3 separate regions of the Homo sapiens genome follow, and all the other regions are linked to region 1. Evidence: promoter capture Hi-C in human tissues and cell types (Jung and others, 2019). All regions are on one chromosome and are shown on one strand. Each heading gives the region's core, a stretch centred on a gene start or on the middle of the fragment in contact. The rest is flanking DNA. Distances are from core to core; before and after follow the strand shown. Region 1 holds the start of SPDYE4 (speedy/RINGO cell cycle regulator family member E4). Region 2 holds the start of LOC105371525 (a long non-coding RNA gene). Region 3 overlaps PIK3R6 (phosphoinositide-3-kinase regulatory subunit 6).

The links. Contacts are between HindIII fragments. The study calls those that stand out against the background at their distance.
Region 2: a fragment that was not itself captured here is called in contact with the fragment with the promoter of SPDYE4 in region 1 in 6 of the 25 tissues and cell types used here (H1 embryonic stem cells, heart left ventricle, liver and 3 more).
Region 3: a contact is called between a fragment that was not itself captured here and the fragment with the promoter of SPDYE4 in region 1, in 2 of the 25 tissues and cell types used here (lymphoblastoid cells and pancreas).

What each region holds. Positions count from the first base shown.
Region 1 is chr17:8,755,687-8,760,564 of GRCh38, reverse strand. SPDYE4 (speedy/RINGO cell cycle regulator family member E4) reads left to right here and starts at 2,019. Exons shown (of 7, transcript NM_001394956.1): 1 at 2,019-2,291; 2 at 3,073-3,303; 3 at 4,129-4,187. The coding sequence starts at 2,183. The HindIII fragment of the contact is 5,925 bases long and covers 1-4,878 here.
Region 2 is chr17:8,669,699-8,674,576 of GRCh38, reverse strand. It overlaps LOC105371525 (a long non-coding RNA gene), which reads right to left and starts at 3,995. Exons shown (of 4, transcript XR_001752781.1): 1 at 3,649-3,995. RefSeq lists an enhancer at 1-2,574. The HindIII fragment of the contact is 4,950 bases long and covers 1-4,448 here.
Region 3 is chr17:8,823,309-8,828,186 of GRCh38, reverse strand. It overlaps PIK3R6 (phosphoinositide-3-kinase regulatory subunit 6), which reads left to right. Exons shown (of 20, transcript NM_001010855.4): 12 at 1-75; 13 at 893-1,015; 14 at 4,690-4,800. Among named protein-coding and RNA genes, the nearest start is that of MFSD6L, 26 kb to the right of the region's middle. RefSeq lists an enhancer at 1-602. The HindIII fragment of the contact is 6,216 bases long and covers 49-4,878 here.

The sequences.
Region 1 (4,878 bases), core at 770-3,269:
CCCACCTCAGTCCTTTGGAATTAGAATCTGTGGGGCTGGGTCCTGGCATCTGTATCTTAATGTTCCTAGTTGAGATCCTTAGGCTGAAAGGCTGGTATTTGCAAAGCACTTCTTCTCCTCCAAACTCAGCCTCCGAACTAGCTGGGACTACAGGTGTGTGCCACCACACCAGGCTAATTTTAAATTTTTTTGGAGAGACGGAGTCTCACAACGTTACTCAGACTCATCTCCAACTCCTGGGTTCAAGTGATTCTCCAGCCTTGGCCTCCCAAAGTGTAGGGATGACAGGCAGGAGCCACCATGCCAGCCAATAAAGCCCTTCTGTTTCACTCTAATGATATCTTTGGTGCATAGCTACAGCCATTGTTGTATTAACCTGCATCACTGAAGGAAAAGAGAAGGGGAGAAGTGATAGTTTTGCTTTTCCCTGAACATATCAGATGAAACCTGAACTGTTTAGCTCATTTTTGGACAATGTATTGACATAATTTAAGATGGCTGCCTTATTGTAGCCTGTCTACAGAAGGTGCCTAGAAGACAGAGGAATATGTAAAACTGGCTTGAAGAGTGATTAATCAGAACTTTACGTGGTACAGAAGAGAAATTTTAATGGCAACAGAATATTGATCTTCTAATGTTTGAAAGCCTATTAAATAGGAGAGAAAGATGATTTTCTGTTTTGTTGTAAAAGGATCCAACCAGTTCTGATGGTTGAAAGCATCGTGAATGCGAAGGTCCACTCAATGTAAGCAGAGTTTCCTAACAATTGGACTTCCACAGCGACGGGATCTGCCTCCTCATTCAGTTGTGCCTTTCCCATCAGCGAGAGACTCCTAGGAGCCCATTAGGAAGCTGTGCCAGAACTCACAGGTTCTTTGGATGGTATCTGAGATAGTATCCAGCTCTTACATTTTTATTTTTTCCGAAAAAAATATTTTTGAGACTGAGTCTCACTCTGTCCTCCAGGCTGGTGTGCAGTGGTGCAATCATAGCTCACTGCAGCCTCAAACACTTGGGCTGAAGCAATCCTCCTGCCTCAGCCTCCCAAGTACTGGGACCACAGGTGTGTGCCACGATTCCTGATTACTTTGTTTATATTTTGTAGAGATGACGTTTTGCTATGTTGCCCAGACTAATCTTGAACTCCTAACCTCAAGTGACGCCCTGCCTTGGCCTCCCAAAGGAGGGAGATTATGAGCAGGAGCCCCTGGGCCTGGCTGAGATTTTCCCCTTAGTCTTTTTATACACAGGATATTTTATTCATAAAATACATAAATAGTAGGCAAATTTTGGGGTCAAGTGAAATAGATATGTTGTAATAGTTGATATATAGACCAGAGTTCCTTAGCTGAACTGGAGGGCAGGCTTTAGGTGATCCATGGATGCCCTGAACTTGTGGACACCATTGAAAATCTGTACGAAACCATGGACAGTCTCCTGTGATTTTCATTCCTCAAAATGTCTCTTGGACTCAAAGATGCCTGAGAGCAAAGGATGCATGTTCCCCTACTATAGGATCCAGGATAGTGAATATCAGTAAACATTCAGCAAAAAAGCTTTGCCACATTGAGTACTTCGACGTAACGTCTCCATTCAACAAGTCAATTTACCCAGGATCTCCTGTATATGTTAATCTCACTCTTGGAAGGACTCATCATTCTGCTTACCCTAAATTTCCTTCCACCTTCCTCCCTCTCTCACCAGACTAGACTCTGAAATGGGAAGGAGAAGCGGGGAGGAGAGCCCAACACCCCCTCAAGTTTAGAGTGGAGAGGACACAGCCTCTGCTGGGACAGGGAAAAGAGGAATGTGGAGACCCTGAGGATGCTTTTGGACAATGCTCAGAGGTTGGGACATTGCCAGGAGATACCGTTCACCCCGGATCTCCAAGAAAAGAGATCAGTCTGGCAGTTACATGTGTTTTTCTTCAAAGTAGTTGCCAGTTTGGAATGACCGATGACATCAGAGATTCCGACTTTCCTGATTGGAAGGACCGGACTCTGGTTGCTTGGGAGTTCAGGTGGACAACAGCAACTTCTCAGAACTACTCTTCACTCCTAACTTCTCCCGAGCCTCTAGAAGAGAAACGCACTCTTCTGGGTCCTAACGGAGTCTGGAAGAAGGCTTTGGACAGAACAGGGACTAGGTTTTGTGGACAGAAACAAAGTGTTTGGGAGAGATTATGGCCAGTGGTCAAGCGCGCCCCCCGTTTGAGGAGGAGAGCCCCCAGCCTAGCACAACGGTACGGTCCCCCGAGGTGGTGGTGGATGATGAAGTGCCAGGACCATCAGGTGAGGTGACTGGAGGGAGAAGCGATGGGAGATGATTGACTGAGGAGAGGGAAGGGGGCCAGTTACTGGGAATCTGAAGCACCTGAGTAGGGTGTGTGGGAAAGAAACGACGGACTCAGGAAGCCAGGGATCGGGGAAGGAGGGTGCAGGGAATGGGGCCAAGCATGGCCACGTGTAAAGAAAGTCTGGGGAGCAATGAAGGGGGTCAGGAGATGTGCTCAAAAGATGAGAGAGGAAGGCCGAGGCGGACGGATCACGAGGTCAGAAGATCGAGACCATCCTGGTTAACACGATGAAACCCTGTCTCTACCAAAAATACAAAAGTGAGTTGGGCATGGTGGTGCGTGCCTGTAGTCCCAGCTACTCAAGAGGCTGAGGCAGGAGAATCATTTGAACCCAGGAGGCGGAGGTTGCAGTGAACCAAGATTGTGCCACTGCACTCCGGTCTGGGCAACAAGAGGGAGACTCCATCTCAAAAAAAAAAAAAAGAGAGAGAGAGAGAGAGAGCAGACAGAGCTCAAGGGAAGGTTTCCATTTTTCTCCAATTGAAAGTTCTTATCTGTGATGAGGAAATGTTTTGAGGACAGAGAGCCGGAAGAATGGGGAGGTGAGGGAGAGGCAGATGGGGATCAGCAAAGGAGAAAGGTGGAAACATGGCTTGGAGAAGCTGACAGTCTGCGAGGCTTGGGAGGATGGAAGAGTAGTTTGAGGTTCCTGGGTCGGGGCGTCTAAGGTGATCAATGGCAGAAACATGACACCATGGCCTGGTTTCTTCACTCAGCCCCTTGGATAGATCCCAGCCCCCAGCCTCAATCCCTTGGCCTGAAAAGGAAGAGCGAATGGTCAGACGAATCCGAGGAGGAGCTGGAGGAGGAGCTGGAGTTGGAGCGCGCCCCTGAGCCCGAGGACACCTGGGTGGTGGAGACGCTGTGTGGGCTCAAGATGAAGCTGAAGCGAAAGCGAGCATCCTCCGTGCTCCCTGAGCACCACGAGGCCTTCAACAGGCTCCTTGGTAGGAGGATACCCCAAAAAGCACCTCCAACCCTGTTCTTTTAAAAAAGTGGAATCTTTCAATAATCACACTTTCCCAATAAGAAGAATATGCCCTCCTGGGGGATGAGCGCTCCATGCAGGAGGAGGATGCTTAGGAGATAGAGGATTAGGCTAGTCTTAATAAAGGTCTGCACTTGAAATAAGAAAGCTTGGTTTCTGGCCAGGTGCAGTGGCTCATGCCTGAGATCTTGGTGCTTTGGGAGGCTGAGGCGGGAGGATCTCTTGAACTCAGGAGTTTGAAGTTGCAATGAGCTATGATTGCACCACTGCACTCCAGCCTGGTTGACAAGGAAAGACCCTGTCATAAAATAAATAAAATAAAATAAAATAAAAGATAAAAGAAAGCTTGGTTTCAGCTGTACCCTCTGAAACTCTATGTCTCTTGATGACTTTTCTAAACCTAAGTGTCTCCATCCGTGGAGGGGGATAACAAGGCCATGGGCACACCCAGCTGTGACTATCTCAGGAAGCAATGATGGGAATTCTATTATGACTTCTGCAGTGGTCCCTTCCTGTCTGATGGGAGGACATCATGGCTTATTCACAGCTCTTCATCCTGTAGACTCTGACACCAGAGGCCTCCTTCGGCCTCTCCTCAGGGGAATCTCAGAGCGGGAGCCTCCCTCCTTGCCCAGTGAAAGTCCTTCTCTCCTCTCCCATCCACCTAAGCCTTGGCCACAATCCTGAGACTTCCCCCAGAGGGACACAGTTCTCCTCTCTGCTCTGCTGCTCCCACGGCAACCCTGTTCCACTTCTCACCCTGACACAGGCTCTCTTTTCACAGGGGATCCTGTCGTTCAAAAATTCCTGGCCTGGGACAAAGACCTGAGGGTGTCAGACAAGGTAAGGTTGTTCTCCACTCAACTGTGTTCCTGCTTTAACACACGTCCTGGGGAAGGGTGCAGCGTCTAAACCCACAGTTTCTCTCCTCTCTCCCTCTACCATCTCCCACCTGCTGATTCCATACTCTTGGGCGCCCACATTTTGATTTTTATTTTTTCAGAAACAGGGTCTCGTTCTGTTGCCCAGGCTGGAATGCAGTGTTGCCATCATAGCTCACTGCAGCCTCAGCCTCCTGGGCTCAAGTGATCCTCCCGCCTCGGCCTCTCCAATAGCTGGGACTCCAGGCGTGAGTCACCGCCCCCAGCTATTCTAGGTCTTCTCATAATTTGTCAGCATCTCCCTCGGGGCTCTGGTAGCCTGTTGCATAGTTGATGGGTGGCCCCTGCCTCTGCACAGGGTCCTTTGGAATCCAGGCCCTGGGCCAGTCTTGAAACTCCTGACCCCTATCCTCTCAGATCTTTGGGACAGTCCTTTGCCCCAGCTCACCAAGACCCTCCTGACATTAGCAGCCCTAGACACTCTCCCTCCAGTGATCCCACTGGAGCTCATCATCATGGGAGCATCACAGACCTCCCTCCCTCCGACTTCCCGGATTTGCAGCTGACTTTGAACACTCTCCACCCGCAAGCCCCCAATGAGCATAGTCACCCAACACTGAGGTTCCTTCTGTGATAGACAACCGCGCCCCAGC
Region 2 (4,878 bases), core at 724-3,223, 86 kb after region 1:
TTTTAGTGTGAAGGTCAGGGGTACTCACTCTTCCTCCAAGATAAGATTCCTTGGGATGTTTGTTTAAAACATTCCCAAGTTCTGCCCCAGACGTATTCAATCAGAATCTCCAGGAGGCAGGCCTGGGAGTCTATATCTTAATCTGCACCCTGGACGAGTCTTATGATGTCAGGGGTGTATTACATTCTTACATCAGGAAAAGTCAGGGATTGCTTGTTGGTGACAGGATATCTCTGAGCTTCCCTAGCCCTGTTTTGCAGAAAGGAGGAGAAAAGAGAGACTGGGGCTTGGAGCACTAACCTTTAAGGGGGCCTATGGTCCCTGAGTCCTTCTGTCCCCTTTGGTGTTCCCAGCAACCCCAGAGCTCTGAGGCTCTTCTATGAACTTGCTTTGCTTACACCTGGACACCCAGAAGGAGCATCAGGGGATCAGCACTGGGTTTGGGGAGGCACAGCCCAGGACAGGGTTTAGAAAACTGGGGTTTTGGTGTGGCTCTACCACTGATCTTGGCAGAGCAGCTTTGCAGTACCTTGGGTTAGGGCTTGACTTTCCTGGGCCACAGTTTCTTCATCAATAAAATGGAGACAATTAATGACTAACTCACTGACTGTCCAATAGTCAATAAAGATTCTGGAGCTCTAACTGTTAGGGACTGTCTTTTTGGCCAGCAGGAAGTATTCAGTGAGGTACTAGCAGAGGAAATGCTTTGAGCAGTATGAAGCTCCTTATCAGCATTTCCCAAGGGACGCACCATGGATGTGGGCTGTTAATCATGTTCCACAAAAATAAAAAGGGCTCTGTGTTCTGTTGAGGAAATGCTTGATTAAATTGAATTAAATAGTCTTTGATTTAGGACTGCTCTGGGTCTTTTATTGAATGTGCACTGTGACTTGCCAGGGCAAGTGTGTGTGTGTGTGTGTGTGTGTGTGTGTGTGTAGGAAAATGTAATCAGACCTCCCCAGACTTGCTTGTTTGGTGATACCATTAATTAGTGAAACACTTCTCATTTTGTCCTCCTTTTAAAAATTCTGGTAAAATAATATGTAACACAAAGTTTACCATTCCGGGGGCATTAAGTATCTTCACGCTGTAACAATGTGCAATCATCACTATCATCCATCTGCACAGCTTTTTCATCTTTCCAAACTGAAACTCTGTATCCATTAAACAGTAACTCCCCATTCCCTGATCTCCTGGCTCCTAGCAAGCACCATTCTACTTTCTGTCTTTATGCATTTGACTACTCCAGCTACCTCATATAAGCAGAATTGTGTAATATTTGTGCTTTTATGTTGGACTTATTTCACTTAGCATAATGTTCTCAAGCTTCATCTGTGTTGCACCAAGTGTCAGAATATCCTTCCTATTAAGGCTGAATAATTGTAGGACCATATGTATATGCTACATTTTATCTATCCACTTATCCATTGATGGAGATTAGGGTTGTTTCTTCCTCTTGGCTATTGTGAATCATGATGTTGTGAACAGGGGAGCATACATATCTGTTCCAGTCCCCACTTCGATTCAGAAGTGAAATTGCTGGATGATAGAGCATCTCCTGGGCTAGTGTTTTGTGGAGCAAACTTTGGAAAGATTGCTCTCGGCCGGGCGCAGTGGCTCAAGTCTGTAATCCCAGCACTTTGGGAGGCCGAGGTGGGCGGATCATGAGGTCAGGAGATCGAGACCACGGTGAAATCCCGTCTCTACTAAAAATACAAAAAATTAGCCAGGCGCGGTGGCAGGCACCTGTAGTCCCAGCTACTGAGGAGGCTGAGGCAGGAGAATGGCGTGAACCCAGGAGGTGGAGCTTGCAGTGAGCCGAGATTGCACCACTGCACTCCAGCCTGGGCAACAGAGCAAGACTCCTTCTCAAAAAAATAAATAAATAAATAAATAAAGATTGCTCTGTATAAGTCTGGGGGCGGAGTACTATTAAGTGAGAACATTGCTGAATTTTCCAGGGATGTCCCTGCCCTGGATGATACAGTGGGAAAGCATGCTGGATTAGGAGTGAGGACTCGAATTCCTCCCTGAGCTCTGCGGGCCTTGGTTTCTGCAACGGTTAAATAACCATGACAAACTGGGTGATCTTTTGAAATCTAGGATTCTTTGGCCTATTGTGGTTCCCCTCCCACAGGCATCAGGGTGGTGGGTGAGGGTGAGGGCGGCGGGAGGGAGAAGTCTGGGAAGGAGACATTAGCTTGAGACGAGGATAACTTAATGTCTTCATCCTTTGACCTCGACGTTTTAATTGTTTAACCTACAGTTGACTCTTGAACAACACGGATTTGAACTGTGCAGGTCCACCATATACGTGGATTTTCTTCCACCTCTGAGATAGCAAGACCAACCCCTCCTCTTCCTCTTCCTCCTCAGCCTACTCAATGTGAAGGTGATGAGGATGAAGAACCTTATGATGATCTACTTCCACTTAAGGAGTAGCAAATATATTTTATCTTCCTTATGATTTTTTTCTCTTTTTTTTCTTTTTTTCTTTTTCTTTTTTGAGATAGAGTATAGCTCCTTTGCCCAGGCTGGAGTGCCGTGGTGTGATCTTGGTTCACCACAACCTCCGCCTCCTGGATTGAAGCGATTCTTCTGCCTTAGCCTCCGGAGTAGCTGGGACTACAGGCGTATGCCACTGTGCCTGGCCCCTTACGATTTTCTTAATAACATTTTATTTTCTGTGGCTTACTTTATTGGGTTTTTTGGGGGCTTTTTGGTTTTTGTTTTTTTGAGAGAGGGTCTGTTGCCCAGGCTGGAGTGCAGTGGCACTATCTTAGCTCACTGCAACCTCCTTCTCCTGGGTTCAAGCGATTTTCCTGCCTCAGCCCCCAAGTAGCTGAGATTACAGGCACACACCACCACACCCGGCTAATTTTTGTATTTTTAGATGGGTTTTCACCACGTTGGCCAGGCTGGTCTTGAACTCCTTACCTCAAGTGATCCACCCACCTTGGCCTCCCAAAGTGCTGGGATTATAGGCATGAGCCACCGCACCCGGCCTTTGGCTTACTAATATATATATATATATATATATATATATATATATATATATATATATATATATGGTTTTTTTTAATTTTTCCCCGAGACGGAGTCTCACTCTGTCACCCAGGCTGGAGTGCAGTGGTGCGATCTTGGCTCACTGCAACCTCTGCCTCCCAGGTTAAAGCAATTCTTCTGCCTCAGCCTCCCGAGTAGCTGGTACTACAGGTGCATATCATCACGCCCGGCTAATATTTTGTATTTTTAGTAGAGACAGGGTTTCACCATGTTGGCCAGGCTGATCTCAAACTCCTGACCTCGTGATCCACCTGCCTCGGCCTCCCAAAGTGGTGGGATTACAGGCGTGAGCCACCGTGCCCAGTCAGGTTACTTTATTGTAAGAATACAACATATAATACATATAACACACAAAATATGTGTTAATTGTTTATGTGATCAGCATGGCTTCCAGTCAGCAGAAGGCTATTAGTAAAGTTTGGGGGAGTAAAAAAAAAATTGTACGTGGATTTTCAGCTGCGTGGTTGTCGGCGCGAGTAAACCGCCCCCCCCCCGCCCCCGCCCCACGCCCGCCACTTTGTTGTTCAGAGGTCAGCTGTATTTTCTTTTATGAGGGAAAGCCATATTTTGCTCTTTCCTCACCTTTGTGCTTCGGGATCCAAACACTTCTTGGATAGTTCTCTCTCAGTTGTTCTTTCGCCTCTAGAGCTGGTATCATAGTTGTGAACTTCTCTTTTGACCTTCCCCTCCGCAATCAGTCTAACGGCTACTGGGAAAGAATGAGCTGCTGTGTCTCCTCTTCCACTTTTCTCTGCTTAGCCTGGCTTTCCTTTTCTTCCACTATTAGAAACACACACAAAAAAGAAAAGTCCCACGTGTTTGTCTCCAGACCATGAGGGTAAACCTCAGGAATGACGCTTTCCTCTAGGAGTTAAGTACTTTTCCTCTTCAAAAGTAAAGTCTTCCCTCTCCCGATAGGAATCTCTGGCTGCTGCTTGAATTTTAAATATAATAACCAGGTTTATACATTAAGCAAGCTTTGCCTGGTTCCCTCAGCAACAGCTCTAACTTGGATAGCTTGCCATAGCATGTTCTAAAGGAACTTGTGCATTTCATTATAATAACATCCCACTTATTCAGAAGGGAAGAAATCTTAACTTTTCAGAAAGACGGAAAGCTAAAATTAGGCCATGAACCAAAACAAAACCTTTTAAGCCCCTCGAATAACCTTCACAATGTCCTGCTCTAAAGACAAGAGCGGCCAGGTGCGGTGGCTCATGCCTGTAATCCCAGCACTTTGGGAGGCCGAGGCGGGTGGATCATGATGTCAGGAGTTCAAGACCAGCCTGGCCAAGATGGTGAAACCCCGTCTCTACTAAAAAAACTACAAAAATTAGCCAGGCGCGGTGGCGCACGCCTGTAATCCCAGCTACTTGGGAGGCTGAGGCAGAATAATTGCTTGAACCTGGGCAGCAGAGGTTGCAGTGAGCTGAGACTGCGCTACTGCACTCCAGCCAGGGGACAGAGAGAGACTCTGTCTCAAAAAAAAAACAAACAAACAAAAAAAAAAAAAAACACAAGAACTTTACTTGCAAGAAAGTCTTAAGGCCCTGTGATTCTGTTTACTCTTTTTTTTTTTAACACATCCTTCTCCACTGCGAATAAAAAATAGGGAGGGGCTGCTAGAAGTAGACACAGTTAGCACAGTGTCAACCCATATGGTAGCCTGAAGACAAAGGAGACAGAAAAACTCAAAAAAAGAGCAGGCATAGATCTGTGCTGTGACAGTTTTGACAGATTCCAATCAAAATGGATAAAATAAAGTGTTGGGTTTTGTAGAGATAAGCTTCAGTTATCCGGAAAGCTCATTGC
Region 3 (4,878 bases), core at 1,907-4,406, 66 kb before region 1:
CGGGAGACCCAGAAGTTCTGCCTCACTCCCAGACTCAGCCTGCAGCTCTACTACATCCCCGTGCTGGCGCCTGAGGTGACTGGACCGCGGGGAGGCGGTGGCGGGGCAGAGACAGGGCAGGCTGGGCAGGGACACACCTGCAGCCCCGCATCCCCCACATCCCCGGCTCAGGGACTAGAGTAAGCATCCTTAGAATGTGGAGGCGGGAGAGAGGTCAGCGGTCTTCTATTTCAGAGGCTGCAGACGGTGCTCTGGGGGTTGCATGTGGCCAGAGATTGGGTCTCTCTCTTGATGGCAGCCTGCTTGCTGCTATTTGTTTTGTTTTTGTAGGTAATGGAATTAGTTGCAAACTTCTCAAACACAGGGCGGTCTCTCTCTCTCTCTCTCTCTCTCTCTCTCTCTCTCTCTCTCTCTCTCTCTCTCCTCTCTCTCTCTCTCTCTCTCCCCTTCCCTCCCCTCTCTCATACACACACATACACACACACCCCACACTTTCTGGTATGACATGAAAGGAAATTGCAGGCAGTGAAGTCCATTGATCTAGTTGTGGGGACAGAGCCACACTTGCAGTCCTTACTCCTACCGCATGCTCCACTTCCTACTACACACTCCACTTCCTATTGGGAAGCAGTAAGGTCAAAGCCATACTTGTCTCTCCCCTTTTAAAGTCGGTGATCATTTTTCAATGTCCCTGCTGAGTGAACCTCAGCAAAAGATATTCTAGCTTCATCTGAGTTTATAAAACAGAACAACGACGTGTCTTCACATGCAGAAATTCATGCCCCAAGAGGTTAAATGACTTGACCATATTCACACAGCCTAGGCTGATGGCAGCTGGAAGGCAGAGCTGGAGAGAGGGCCTGACGGGTCTGCCCCATCCCCTTTCCCCCAGAAGCCTGCAGCATCCAGGCAGCCGGAGCTGGGAGAGCTGGCTACGTTCCTGGGCCGCGTAGACCCGTGGTACCAGAGCAACGTCAACACGCTGTGCCCCGCCATCCACAAGCTGGCTGAGATGGTAGGGGAGGGTGAGGGTACCAGGGAGGGAGAGAGGGACGGGAGTGGGGTCTGGGCAGAGGGGAGAACGGAGGAGCCCAAGTAGGCAGCGAGGGTGAAATGGGGGTGAGAGGGGGCCATCTTTTTGCTGCTGCACTTGACCTTTGACCTTAAGAGTCAGGTGGGATGAGACATGAAGGGAATTCAAGACAGGGGCCCTAACCAGATAGTGGCTTTGAACTCACTCGGGACACTTACCAGGCTCGTACTTTGGACCAGACCACCGTGGAAAAGACGAAGTAAAATATTCCTTCGTAAGTGTGTAGGGCAGTTATACTCCTTCTTGTGTGAGCTTCCTGTGATCCTTTTTCTTTTTTTATCATTTATCTATTTATTTTTATTTTACTTCACGTTCTGGGATACATGTGCAGAACATGCAGGTTTGTTACACAGGTATACATGTGCCATGGTGGTTTGCTGCACCCATCAACCCCTTATCTAGGTTTTAAGCCCCGCATGCATTAGATATTTGTCCTAATGCTCTCCCTTCCCTTGCCCCCAACCCCCAGACAGGCCCCGGTGTGTGATGTTCCACTCCCTGTGTCCATGTGTTCTCATTGTTCAGCTCCCACTTACGAGTGAGAACATGTGGTGTTTGGTTTTCTGTTCCTATGTTAGTTTGCTGAGAATGATGGTTTCCAGCTTCACCATGTCCCTGAAAAGGACATTAACTCACTCTTTTTTTATGGCTGCATAGTATTCCATGGTGTATATGTGCCACAATTTCTTTGTCCTGTCTATCATTGATGGGCATTTGGGCTGGTTCCAAGTCTTTGCTATTGTAAATAGTGCCACAATAAACATACGTGTGCATGTGTCTTTATAGTGGAATGAATCATTTTTCAATGATTGTAACAGCTGATGTTTCCTGAGCACTTATGCTGCACTGGGCACTGTTCTAAACACTTACACACAGGGCAGCTCATTTAATTCCCACAGCAGCCCAGAGGCAGGTGCCCCTGTTGGTAGGTACCATTGTCACCATAGCCCCGTTTTACAGATAGAGCAGCTGAGGCACAAAGAGATTAAGTATCTTGCCTGAAGTCACAGAATGAGTGGTGGAATGCCAGTTGGAAACAGGCAGCTTGACTCCAGAGCACCCTCTCCTAACCACAAACCCACACTGCCATACCCCAACCGTGGCTGGCAGTGGGGAGGGAACTCATCTTTTACTGATTTGAAAGGGCTTTTATATAGTAAGAGAATTCTAACTTTTTTGTTGTTACATATGTTGCAGATTTTTTTCCCATAGTTGTAACTTGCCTATCCACTTTTTGACTTGCAGAAGTTTAATACTTGGGTGTAGTCAGACATAGCACTTTTATTCTTTACAGTTTCTGCCTTTGGAGTCATGCTTCCAAAAGCTTAAATAAATGTTCACTGATAATTTAACACTTTCCATGTCTCAATTTTTACATTTAATTAATTGTCTATCTGCAGTTAATTTTATTGTTTAATGTGAAGTATGTCATTTTATTTTTTCCAAATGTTGAGCTAGTTGTCCTAAAGCTATTTTGCATAAACCATCTTGCCGCAGAAATTTGAAATGCCACTTTTATCATTTGCTAAATACTTACGTGTACTTGTATTTAGTACATGATACTAACATGTGCTTGTATTTAGTACGTGATCCTTACATGTGCTTGTAAGTATTTAGTACATACCTATGCTCTCATTGATTTATTCATTTCTGTACAAATTAGCCTTTTGATATTTTAATATCTGGCTATAGAAGCCTGCCTACCCTATTATTCTTCTTTTTCAAAACTTTTCAGAATATGCTTATTTCTCTTCCTGATAAACTTTAGAATTTCAAGTTTTGTTTTTGTTATTATTTTTAATCCTATTGGATTTCGATTGAAATTTGGGGAGAATTAGCATCTTTCGCATATTGAGTTTTTCTCTCTAGGAGCATGGTGTAGCTCTTCATTTGTCCAAGTGTCCTTATATATCCCTCAGTATAAGTGTAAAGTTTGCGTCATACAGCTTCTGTCCAATTCTCACTAAATTTATTACTCGTGTGTGATAGTGTTTCTTACTATTGCGAATGGTATCTTTATGCCATTATATTTGGGTAGTGCCTGCTGCTAATATAAAAGAAAGCTATTGACTTATACACATTTATTTACTTTAGTTTTAAAAACTGCGGTAAAAAATATAACATTAATTTACCACTTTTACATATCTGTTTTTTAACTTGTCACTGTACTGAGCTCTCCATTTTGCTTTATCATTTGACTGATGAGGGTGTCTTCTTACATATTTTATTCGAATAAGGATATTTAGGGGTGCACATTTTCTGGCTTATACCTGATCCGAAAATGTCTTTGCATACACACAAAGACCATTTAGCTGGGTATTAAAATACTTTTTCCTTGAAACTTGGATGCTATTACAGTGGGAACATTTGATGCAGGCCCCATTGGTGCTCCTTTGCTGGTAGCTATTTTTCTCCGCTGGGACACTGTAAGGTTTTGGTTTTCCCCTTCTCCTTGTAATTAACAATTTGAATGGCCCTATGCTTACTCCAAAAGCGGTTTCCACATGAAGATACCAGAAACAATGTGAGCAATGACAGCATTATTAGACTACGTTCATAGCTCCTCAGTGTGACCCTTTCGAAGGGAACAATATTTCAGTACACCAGATGTGAGAGATAGAAGAGGTCTTAGAGGATCGGATATGAGTTGGATGAGATCAACTCTGAGCTTCCTTCTAGCCCTGACACTATCACATTCTATGTAGATGTTCTGAAAACCCAGTCACTATGCTTTATCATCATATGGGACCAGGGAAGGACTGGAGGACAAGACGCATAGTCCATTCCCAATAACACGCAAACCTGAATTGTTTTATTTTATTTTGAGATGGAGTTTCGCTCTTGTTGCCCAGGCTGGAGTGCAATGGCACAATCTTGGCTCACTGCAACCTCCGCCTCCTGGATTCAAACGATTCTCCTGCCTTAGCCTCCTGAGTAGCTGGGATTACAGGAATGTGCCACCACATCTGGCTAATTTTGTATTTTTAGTAGAGATGAGGTTTCTCCATGTTGGTCAGGCTGGTCTCGAACTCCTGACCTCAGGTGACCCGCCCACCTCAGCCTCCCAAAGTGTTGAGATTACAGGTGTTGAGCCACCACACCCAGCCAATTAGTTTATTAATAGATGCAGAGACCACCAGAGCTGAAAGAGACATCAGATCATCTGGTTCAACCTCTCATTTTCTGTAGAAGGACACTCGGGCCTCATAGAGTTTGAATAACTTGCCCACGCCTGCTTGGCCAATGGCAAGTAGCCCATCCGAGCCTAGAACCCACTCCTGGGTCTCTCATTAGATTCACTCTCCAGCATCTTGTCTCCCTCAATCACTTAGCACAGTGCCTCACACATAGCAGCGCTCAGTAGTCTCTGTAGGATTGAAATCAGTCGGATTCCCTAGGGAGGCAGGGCTCTGGACAGGAATATTTTGATTGGGAGTGGAAATTCAGTGGTAGGAAAGGTTTGGAATGTGTTGAAGGACGCACTGGGTTAGTGCATCCCAGAGATGTAGGGGCTTGAAGTTTCTCTCTGAAGAAAATGGCATCTCCCACAGTGGCCTTGGGGGAGTTGGTGAAGACATTCCCTGTCTCCATCACAGCCTCCTTCCCTGGACACATCCCGGACTGTGGACCCCTTCATCCTAGACGTCATCACCTACTACATCCGCATGGGCACCCAACCCATCTATTTCCAGATCTACACAGTCAAGGTAAGCATCCCACTGGAGGCTCCAAGGGACCCCAGGACCCCACCGATTAAATACCCAGGCTCTGGGGAAACACTGGTC